Regions from separate parts of the Homo sapiens genome. Here all the other regions are linked to region 1. Evidence: promoter capture Hi-C in 16 types of primary human blood cells and fetal thymus (Javierre and others, 2016). All regions are on one chromosome and are shown on one strand. Each heading gives the region's core, a stretch centred on a gene start or on the middle of the fragment in contact. The rest is flanking DNA. Distances are from core to core; before and after follow the strand shown.

Region 1 (3,106 bases), core at 523-3,022:
CCCATGAGAAAGAATGGGAAAGATTATAGGCAGCAAAAACGCTGTAGCTGAAAGCACAGAGACAATCTACGCATACGGCATATCCAAGATAGCCTCTACTGTGTACCAAACAAGTAAAGAGTAGTTATACTTGGCCGTAGAGTAAAATTAACTTTCTCTTCATTATTCTTCTTTTTTATGAACTTTAACAACAGAGCAAGCATTAATTTAATGATCAGGAATTTTTTTTAATTAATTTTATTTATTTATTTATTTATTTATTTTTTGAGACAGAGTCTCGCTCTGTCGCCCAGGCTGGAGTGCAGTGGCTTGATCTCGGCTCACTGCAAGCTCCGCCTCCCGGGTTCACGCCATTCTCCTGCCTCAGCCTCCTGAGTACCTGGGACTACAGGCTCCCGCCACCACAACTGGCTAATTTTTTGTATTTTTGGTAGAGACGGAGTTTCACTGTGTTAGCCAGGATAGTCTCGATTTCCTGACCTCATGATCCGCCCACCTCCGCCTCCCAAACTGCTGGGATTACAGGCATGAGCCCCTGCACCCAGCCTTAATTTCCATTTTTAAAGTAAGCTTAGGAAGAACAAACATAAGGCCTATTTTTCCGGTAGAAAGTAGTTTGGGTCAGGTTGTAAAATACAAATGTTAACAACTGAGAAGTAGGCAGTGAAGTCAAGTCCAAACAGACGATACCAAAAAAGGGGCTCATAATATTCCTTAGGTGTCTCTGTGAGACTCCTGGGCTAGGTGTACTCAATGTTACAAGCCTCCTTATCCGTATGGTCATTAGGCGGAAATTCCCCAGGTGGCAGGTACTAGCAGGTCAAATGCTTAAATATAATGCCCTTTGGAGTCACAAAGACCAAGGTTGCTATCTCCACACTACCACTTAACTAGCTCAGTGAGCCTGGGCAAATTTATCAGCCACTTGACTTTTTTATCTGTAAAGTGGAAAAATGCCTACCTCTCAAAATTTTTGTGCAGAACAACTTACATAATGTAGGTAATGAACTTAGTACAGTGCCTGTCCCCCTGAAAATTACAATTACAATATAAAACGCATTTGTATATGTAATTGAGTAGTAGATATTTGTTTACTCTATTGGTTTAGCTAAAGGCTTTAAGCATATGAAACTCCTTTGTCAGATGGAATGTCAACTTTTTAAAACTTAAATGAGTGCAAATTTTTAACACAAGTTCCAAATGTAGAAGGGACATTCCCTATTTGCGGTTAATTCTAAAATGAAGCTACCTTTAGAATGATCCTTCTGTAGGATCCAGAAATAACCAAGCGGCCTAGCCCCTAGATTCTAGCAACTGACAGAAAACTAGGTGGAGGTTTCCCATTCTTCCTTGTCTTCTTACTCCAGCGGGCTTCTGTATCCACTCTAGATTGAATAGGGGATGTTTTGTGTAGAGATGGGCCTTCTCTCTTCCAGTCCAACTCTGAAGTAACCGCCCCTTACCCAAGCTTTCTTTAAACTGGAATAACGCCAGCAGAAGAATGTAGTAGGTGTGCTTCAAGTGTCCTCAAATAATTCCCGCAGCTTCCAGAATCCTTGCAATAGCCCGCTGGACCATCTGCGGCAATTCCACCCACTTCCACGCACCTGCTCTTCTTTCTAACCCCAGTACGCAATCCTGCAGCCCCGCCCCCACAGCTGACCAATCAGAGGGCGCAAAGTGAGTCGGATGGGGCGGGCCCAGTTTGGCGCTGACGACGAATCACCTGCCTCAGACAGCAGGGGCGGAAGCGGAAAAGAGCTGAAAGTCTTGGTTTGGCCTTGGGTTCCGCTGTAGGGGAGGTCCCGTGCGAAAGAATGAGGAGATCCTGGGGCCTTACCTACTAGCGGAATCGACTGAAGAGACGCCTGCCAGTGCGGGAGGTAGGAAGCTCGATCCCCAAAGAAAAGAGCGAGTGGGCAGGCAGCTGCGAGACAGAACCGGAGTGTGCAGGGTCCCTAGAGGCCGGTTCCTGGTCTGTGCTGCTCTCCTGGAAGCCATGGTACAGGCAGAGCTCAGGGCGATCCCCAGGTGAGGGCAGCGGCTCTGCCTGGGATTCCACCGCAGTACAACCGGGTAGATGCGGGGTGGAGAAGAAAGGATGTTGCCTGCACTGCTCGCCAATAGCACCCTGAGAGGCTACATTTGCAGAAGCAGCAGCAGCAGAAGACACAGCGCCGGTCCAGGAGGCGGCTCGAGCTGTTCGTAAAGTCGCCCGACAGCTTTTTCTCCGTAGTATGCGAGTTGACAAAACAGCCAGAGAACAGGGCTCCCCATTACAATCTTTTCGAGATCTTTTCCCTTGCTAACCGGATCTGATTTGTGCGAAAACATGCCTTGCACTTGTACCTGGAGGAACTGGAGACAGTGGATTCGACCTTTAGTAGCGGTCATCTACCTGGTGTCAATAGTGGTTGCGGTTCCCCTATGCGTGTGGGAATTACAGAAACTGGAGGTAAGAGGGTTCTGCACCATCAGCCTGTACACTTTCTTCTACCCATCTATGGTTGGGAAAGAGACACCCTTACCCCATTTCTGCCCTGACAGTCCTGAAAACCATCTAATGTAAACGAGCCTACTCTTAGGATATAAACCTGTCTAATTTCTTGTTCACGGTTCTTCAAGTCATGCTACAGGTGGAGGTGGGACCGGGTCGAGAAAATAGAATATATTAATATAGCTGCTTAGAAGGGCACTGTTTTGCAAGTATTCATCAGTTCCCTGAAAGTAAGGTAATTTTATTGCTGAAATCTGATCTGTTCAGACATTGGACGAAACTAGGTCAAATAAACTACCTTGAAAACCATGTATTGAATTTTATTAGCTTTTAACTAGCTTCTTGAATCAAAGCGTTCTAGTTGTTTTAACTTTGGTGTCTGTTTTTACTGTGGAAATTAGCTCTTACCCAACAAAGGTTTTGCAAAAAGTCCCTTATATATATTTTTTGATGTCATATGCTTATTGTGACATCAGTAATGTACTACAAGCTGGAAAACCCCAAGGTAAATAACTCAGATATAAATATTATATAATGAACTTTAAATTCGGAGTTAATAAAACCCACCAAGTACTTTTACAGAGGAACACCTATTACAAGAACTATAAT
Region 2 (3,462 bases), core at 890-3,389, 6.9 Mb after region 1:
CTTAATTGGTTCAATATCTTAAAAAGAAATGCATTTATATTACTTTTAAAAATAGTCTACTTTATAAATTAAATATAAATGCTTGTTTGAGGAGTTAAGTAGATTTTAAAAAGGTAAAGGACAAAGAAGGAACACTGCACATAATGCATTCCCAGACTGGAGCTGGATATGTAGAACCAAAAATATGCCACCACTCAAAAATCTTCATCATACTAACGAGAAAAGATGGGAGTAGAGGTACTAGCCAGGTACAATTTCAGCTCAGCAAGGCTCTGAGAGCAGCGGGAAGCTGAAAGCACATACAAAGTGATTGATTATAAAATAAAATACCTAAAAGGGACTCTCTTAATTACTGGGTATTTGTAAAATGCAATTAATTAATGGAACTTTTACTGTAAAAGGCCAAAAAAAAAAGTTAAATCAGCTTAAATTATGCCAAAACACCACTCATTATTGAATAATTAGCCCATGACTAGCTTATCTTTAAAGGACTCCCTCTCCCTGCTCTCTTCCCCTAGTATTAGAATGTTAAGTATTTTAGCAATTGAAAAAAAAAAACTACACCAACCTCTCTTCATCTAAAGGCACAGGTTTTCCATTATCAGCTACAAACATGTCATGGGTCCTCTTCAACGACCTGAACACAAGGGTGTGTACAGAATGTTTCTGTACCTCCTAAAAAAAAAGAATGTAATTACACACCTATCTACAAATTACACAAATCATAACCTAAAGTCAGATTGATTATACACTTCACGTGTTTAAATATGTAAAAAGCTTTATACCACTCACCATAGCTACTTGTTGCAAGCTACAGGAGTCAAGTTCAGAGAAGAGGAGGAAGCTCCTCTTTGGCTAGAACCTCAGGTTTAGCAACTGAGTGATGCCGGAGTTTAACTTACTCAATAAATATTTACTGAGCTCCTACTGTGTGTCTGGCAGGTATTGTGCTAGAATCTCACAATAGAATGATAAAAAGGTGGTCATGGTCCCTGTGCTCAAGAGGAAACAGACAAATAAAAAGTAAAATAATTCCACATTTTGATAAGTGCTATGAAGGCAACAAGCAAGGCGCTGAGTCAGGGAATGAAGGACTAAGTATAATTGTGAAAGATTTCACTAAGGTGATATTTAAGCAGAAAGGGAGTTAGCCTTGCACAAAACAGAGGTAAGAACGAACCAGGCTGATGGAAATGTCATGTAAAAAAAAGTTCAGTTAACTGAAATAATACAAGGAGCGCAGTACAGCTGTGTATGGAGGATGAGATGGTGCTTTGTAGCTGCAAGGGTAGACAAGGTCCAGATTAGGTAAGGTCTTTTAGACTATTACAACAGCCTATATTTTGTTCTAGCAACATAGGGTCAGTAAAGGGTTTTAAACAAGAAAGGTATGAACAACTTACGTTTTAAACAGAACAACTTATAGAACAAAATGGAAGCAAGGAAACCAACCAACGGGGAGCTAATGCACCAGTCCAGGTGAAAGATGATGTTGGTCTCAATTAAGGTGGACTGCAGCGGATATGGAGAAGAGTGAATGGAATCAATAAACATGTGGGGTAAGATGGACAAGACCAGCTAACAGCGTTGGCTGTTCATGCCAGGGAAAGATGTAAAGAACGGCAAGTTTTTCTGGGGGTAGAGGTGAAATAAGAGACGACCTGAACGCAAGATAGAGAAGACTACCAATCTTTTAGGGCACAGACTCACTGACACTGCCCCGAGGGCGGCAAGTACCAGTGGTCGATCACCAACAGAGGCCCCGCCTCCGAGGACACTTTCCAGCTCCCAAGAGTCAAACGAGGACTGGACGAATTATCTCAGGCTTCGCGCCCAGGCTGAACCTCCGACTCGGGTTCTCATCCGGCTTCTACCCCTTCCCCGAAAACCCGAAGAAGAGACCACTCGGCCTTGGCCAAATAGCTCCCCTCGTAGCCTCTTTTCTCTCTGGACTCCAAGTACTCTCAATCCCCCACGCGCACTGCCAAAAAAAACAGTCCAGAGACAAACGACTCTTGAGAGCCCCAGTGTCACTTTACCTCGACCATGATGCTACCGTGTATCCCACCTCCGGCAGGGAAGAAACTCTAATCACTAACGCAGTACCCGCCGCCACAGCTGTGCAGCACCTTCCGGAATTGGGCGCCCAGGCGGCGGATGTGATGCAAGCTCTGCGCACGCGCGCTAGTCTCCCTCGGCCATCTAGGATCAGGAGGCGGGTCTCCCTCCTCGGGACCGCCTCTAGGGCGGAGTCTCGAGGCTGAAAGCCGGAGACTCCTGGAAGGGCCTGGGTGGAGGGTTTCACTCGTCCCTCTGAAGAAATCTTAGAATTATGTTTTCTGCCTTAGTTGGGGTCCTGGTTGTTCGTGCTGTATTCCCCGGAAGCTTAACGCTTTTTATTCAGAGAACCTAAGCGTCTGGAGAGCAAACTCCCGTGGGCTCTATCTAAGGCATTTCCACTACCTTGATCTCTTTGGAGGTCGCCTGCGTGCTTTGTGTCTCCTGGTTCTAATCCTGGCGAGAAGCACTTGGACACTTGTAGGCTTAACACCTGAAAACAATTTCGCTTAAACAGTCCAGTAAACACTTGTTAAGTGAACGTTGAGGAATAGCTGTTTTAATTTGGAAAATTTTGACATGTAGTTATAACAAAACCCCATATTTATTTTCTGCTAATAGATTTTTTTTTTTAATTTCTCAAAACTGCATAGCTCTTGTCCATTTCCTAGTTGCCTGCTGATTATTGTGGCTTCAACAATGCCAGGGTACAGCTTTTCAAAGCTGGTAGAAGACACAATTGGAGACTTTAGCCATTTTTATTTATACATATCCTTGTGCCAAGTATTGGTATTTTTGCTTTCTACCCTGGTAAAATCTGTGGTTTGTGATCAACCCTACCCAATTATTTTTCTATGTAAAAAAAAAAATGGATGGACTTAGGCATTTACAAACTTAAATAGACAAACATTTTACTGGCCCTGTTTCAGTTTCACTAATCCTGTCCTGAGAGCATACTGCTTACACTTTGAGAGGGGGAAAAAATCTAGCAAAAGAATAGCAATATAAATCAACCTTACTTGGAAATTCATTAAAAACATTAAGGTCATGGGTTTTTGTTTGAGACAGAGTTTCGCTCTTGTCGCCCAGGCTGGAGTGCCATGGCGCGATCTTGGCTCACTGCAACCTCAGCATCCCAGGTTCAAGCTATTCTCCTGCCTCAGCCTCTGGAGTAGCTGGGATTACAGGCGCCCGCCACCATGCCCGGCTAATTTTTGTATTTTTAGTAGAGACAGCGTTTCACCATGTTGGCCAGGCTGGTCTTGAACTCCTGACCTCAGGTGATCCGCCCGCCTCGGCCTCCCAAAGTGCTAGGATTACAGGCATGAGCCACTGAGCCCTGCCTTAAGGTCATGTTTTTACTTGAAGATACAGCATCTCTGAATTTAACTGTGAGTTTGGCCT
Region 3 (3,558 bases), core at 621-3,120, 7.5 Mb before region 1:
CGAGAGGCTCTCCTTCCCCGCTTCCCCCCTAGGGGTTGAGGGCCTGGTGCCCGCCCAGAACCTGCGACAGCATCAATATTTCCACGCACCCGGCGGATGTGCTGAGAGGGGTGGGCGTAGGGGGACGGGTCTGGGGAGGCGAGGCGGCGCGGCTAGAGGTGGGGTGGGGAGCGGCGAAGAGGAGGAGCAAGGTTTCAACTCAGGGGTTCACTCTTTCAAATCGGTATCTTAAGAAAGGGAAGGGGGGAAACTTTTCCAGCACCTCACTCCGACGCTCCTCTAGGCTCCCTCCGCCCCTCGCAGTCGTGACTGGCTTCTCCCCTCTCGCCCCCTCCTCCCCAAATCTGACAACCCTGACAGATTAACAGGTAGCGACGACGGCAGCTTTTTCCCTAAGAAAAGTTGACGTTAACCCTTAGGCTTCAGCCCACCTCACCCACCGTGCAAATCAGACCCTTGTACCCCCATGTAAGAAGCTCCACGCGCCCCCCACCACCACCACCACCCCCAACGCGCGCCGCAAGCCCGCTGCCCGTGCGCCCTCACCATGATCAGCGTGTGGTTCCTCTGCTCCGCCGAGGCAGCCTCCGCATCTTGCTGGGGTTTGCTCGGGTGCTGCTGTTTGCCGGTGCCGGCGCCCGATTTCTTGGCCCTCTGCTCCAGGGTCCGCTGGTAGAGGCTCACGGTGTCCCGGCGCTCCAGCTCCAGCTGCTCCACCTGAGCCTGCTGGTACCTGTTCTCGCAGTTGACGTGGTGCCGACGGCAGCCCTCGATGCGCTGGCGGAGCCGCTCCACCACGGTGCTGTGCTTGGGAACGGCCGCCGAACCGCCGCCGGGGCCCCCGGAGCCGCCGCATCCACCGGCTGCCGGGTGATTGCTACTCGGAGCAGCGGGAGTACTATTGGGAGTATTATTCACACCGATCCCGGCCCCGCCGAGGCTGCTGTTCAGGCTACTGTTGATGCAAATACTACTGCCATTCGCGGCAGCAGCGGGGGCTGCGAAATCCCCCATCCTGCTCCCCGGGCACACTATTTTGGAAGAACTTTTTTTATCCACCCCCCTATCAGCCTCCTCCTTGGGTCCAAGGATTAAAATAGTTTAAGTGGAACGCGGGGGAGACGCAAGCACATGGATGGAAACGGCGATCCCGACGGGGCGAAAAAAACGGGGGGGGAGATTTTGGGGTGGTTTTTGTTTCCTTTTTTTAAACTGTAAAAGCTCAAGGGGAAGAAAAGGGGGGAACGTTATCGGAATACCATCAGACACCTATCAACAAAAAGAATCACAACAAACTGAGCCAGCAGCAAATCGGGTTGCAACTCAAGGGGAGATCCGCTCCTTGCTTGCCTTCTTTTTATAATCCATTATTTTCTAATAAATTCCAGGAGATTTCCGGTGGTTGGCAAGCATTTTCTCCCTACATACCGAAAAACACACCCCATGTACACACACAAGCATATGCCTCCAGTGCGGACACGCGCGACACACACTCACTCCACACCGCATCGGAAAACGGCAAGCTTGCTTATTGCATTTTCCTTCCACAAAAAAGTTTTGGTGTTTATGCCGCCCCGTGTTCTCAAAGTACTTTGGCTGCTCAGTTGCATTTCACAGGAACCTAGATATCGAATCCTCGGGCTGGGGGAAGTAAACACATGGACAGTCCGAGGCGACTGCAAAAGTAGATCGGTGAAGTCCTTTGCAAAACGCCGCGCAGAGAGCAGCACCTAACGCTCGGCTGGGCTGCCGCTGCCGCCGCTGCTCCTGCCACCATCACAATGATCAACTGCTCGCCGCCGCCGCCGCCGCCGCCTCCTCCTCCTCCTCTCGCTCCTCCACCTCCTCCTCCTCCTCCATGCCAGCGGAGTGATATCAGGACGCGCGAGCTCAGTAAACACGGCAGCGGCGGCGGCTGGAGGCCGTGAGACAGGCCCGCGGACACGGCGCAAAACCCGGCCCGGACTCTCACCCGGCAGGAGCGGGCGCGGCACGCACCAGCACCCGGCTCCCGTCTCCGTCGCCTCGGCGCCCGGCGCCCCTCCTACGCCCCCAACCACACTACCGCCCCGCCGAGAAGCCCAGAGCCGTCGGCGACGGAGAGAAGAAAGATTCTGGGGGGATCTCAGAAATAAATCAACTTTTGACCTGTGTGTGTGCGTGAGAGCGTGTGTGAGTGTGTGTGTCTGTGTATGCGCGCGCGCGTGCGCGGGGACGCGCCTGGTAGGGTTTCCTTATTCCAAGGAAAGTATCAAGCGATCCCAAGTTGTTGTTATACATTTATGCATTATATTGCAGAACTGTGCATGACCAGGCAGAAACATTGAAGCTTTACAGCAGTTGTCTGTCATCCCTATCCATGTGGAAAGAAAAAGGCAAATGAGTGACTTGTTTTTAAAACCCAGGTAATAAGTCTGCGCTAGTAACAGCGCTACTTACGGACACTTGTTCCAAGTCTAGGCCAGACTGAACACACAAATACCAAATTCTAAATAAATAGAAATAGGCATCAAAAATGTGTAATATTTAACTCACTGTACATAATGATTGTTGTTACTAAGTCAATTATTGTTTTACTTACCCTTGGAAAAAAATAAAGCAAGCAGGGACTTGGAGGTGAGACTAACAGTACATTTAAACAGACTGTTTTGAACACTAGGTGCTAATGACAGCAGTAATTAAGGTCCTTCGTAAATCAAGTGGAAAGATTGCAGATTTCATAGACTAGAACTATAGAAAAAACACAGCATTTCACAGTTTGTCATGACCAAAACAAAAACAAGCAAAAATAACAGGCCTACTTTATTGCTGGATATATTTCTTTCCATTTCAATGAATTCACAATAAGTACAATTAAAATGGACTAGCAACTGCAGAAATCAATCTAAACTTTCCATTTTATTAAAGCACATTATCTTTCCCGATATTATCTAAAAACAAAAATAACAACTAAGGATCAAATATTCTTGAATATGGACTTAAACCATTGCATATACATATTTTTAAAAATTAAGATGGAGAAATTATTATTTCTCTAATAATCAGTAAACTATAAATCTTGATTGTGAGATGTTAATTATAAGTCATTTTGTATTATTTCAATAAATCTTAAGAATTAGTTTTTAGGGTAAAAATACACCCCAGTTTTCTAAAATAGCCAGGAATAAAAGAACTTTGGATCTTATGCATTAGTCATGAGATCTGATTTAAACCATCTTCATTTCTTGGCATTGCAGATTAGCACAGGATGCTATTTCTAACCTCATAATGTCAGCGATAAGAAGCTATATTTTTCTTCAATTAATCAGTTCTATATAGTGAACGATATTTTTAATATTCACTGGATATATGGCAAAATGGGCAGCAAAATATTTAATACGGTGTGAGGCTACTTCTAAGCAGTAAAACCAACTTAAGAGAGTGTATATTTCATTGAAGTTGCCACACTTTTTCTGAAGGCTATTTAGTTAATATACAAATTTCTGTATCAAACTGCCCTTCTTCAAGTCTCAGTCAGAAAATTTAACTGGACTACGTCTGTAGCAAAAGAGCCCGTTC

Evidence for each region. The method cuts DNA at HindIII sites, captures the fragments that hold promoters and counts their contacts. A CHiCAGO score of 5 or more calls a contact.
Region 2: the fragment with the promoter of PLRG1 here is called in contact with the fragment with the promoter of TMEM184C in region 1 in 4 of 17 cell types (total CD4 T cells, total B cells, fetal thymus and 1 more); the score reaches 7.0 in total CD4 T cells.
Region 3: a contact is called between the fragment with the promoter of MAML3 here and the fragment with the promoter of TMEM184C in region 1, in 1 of 17 cell types (total CD4 T cells). The highest score is 7.3, in total CD4 T cells.

What each region holds. Positions count from the first base shown.
Region 1 is chr4:147,615,625-147,618,730 of GRCh38, forward strand. TMEM184C (transmembrane protein 184C) reads left to right here and starts at 1,773. Exons shown (of 10, transcript NM_018241.3): 1 at 1,773-2,455. The coding sequence starts at 2,333. It overlaps TMEM184C-DT (TMEM184C divergent transcript), which reads right to left and starts at 1,621. Exons shown (of 2, transcript NR_186679.1): 1 at 1,464-1,621. RefSeq lists enhancers at 1,993-2,112, 2,143-2,192. The HindIII fragment of the contact is 5,941 bases long and covers 1,467-3,106 here.
Region 2 is chr4:154,548,261-154,551,722 of GRCh38, forward strand. It overlaps PLRG1 (pleiotropic regulator 1), which reads right to left and starts at 2,140. Exons shown (of 15, transcript NM_002669.4): 1 at 2,040-2,140; 2 at 569-675. The coding sequence starts at 2,048. RefSeq lists enhancers at 2,244-2,293, 2,314-2,473. The HindIII fragment of the contact is 1,608 bases long and covers 776-2,383 here.
Region 3 is chr4:140,152,314-140,155,871 of GRCh38, forward strand. It overlaps MAML3 (mastermind like transcriptional coactivator 3), which reads right to left and starts at 1,871. Exons shown (of 5, transcript NM_018717.5): 1 at 547-1,871. The coding sequence starts at 1,014. The HindIII fragment of the contact is 806 bases long and covers 1,522-2,327 here.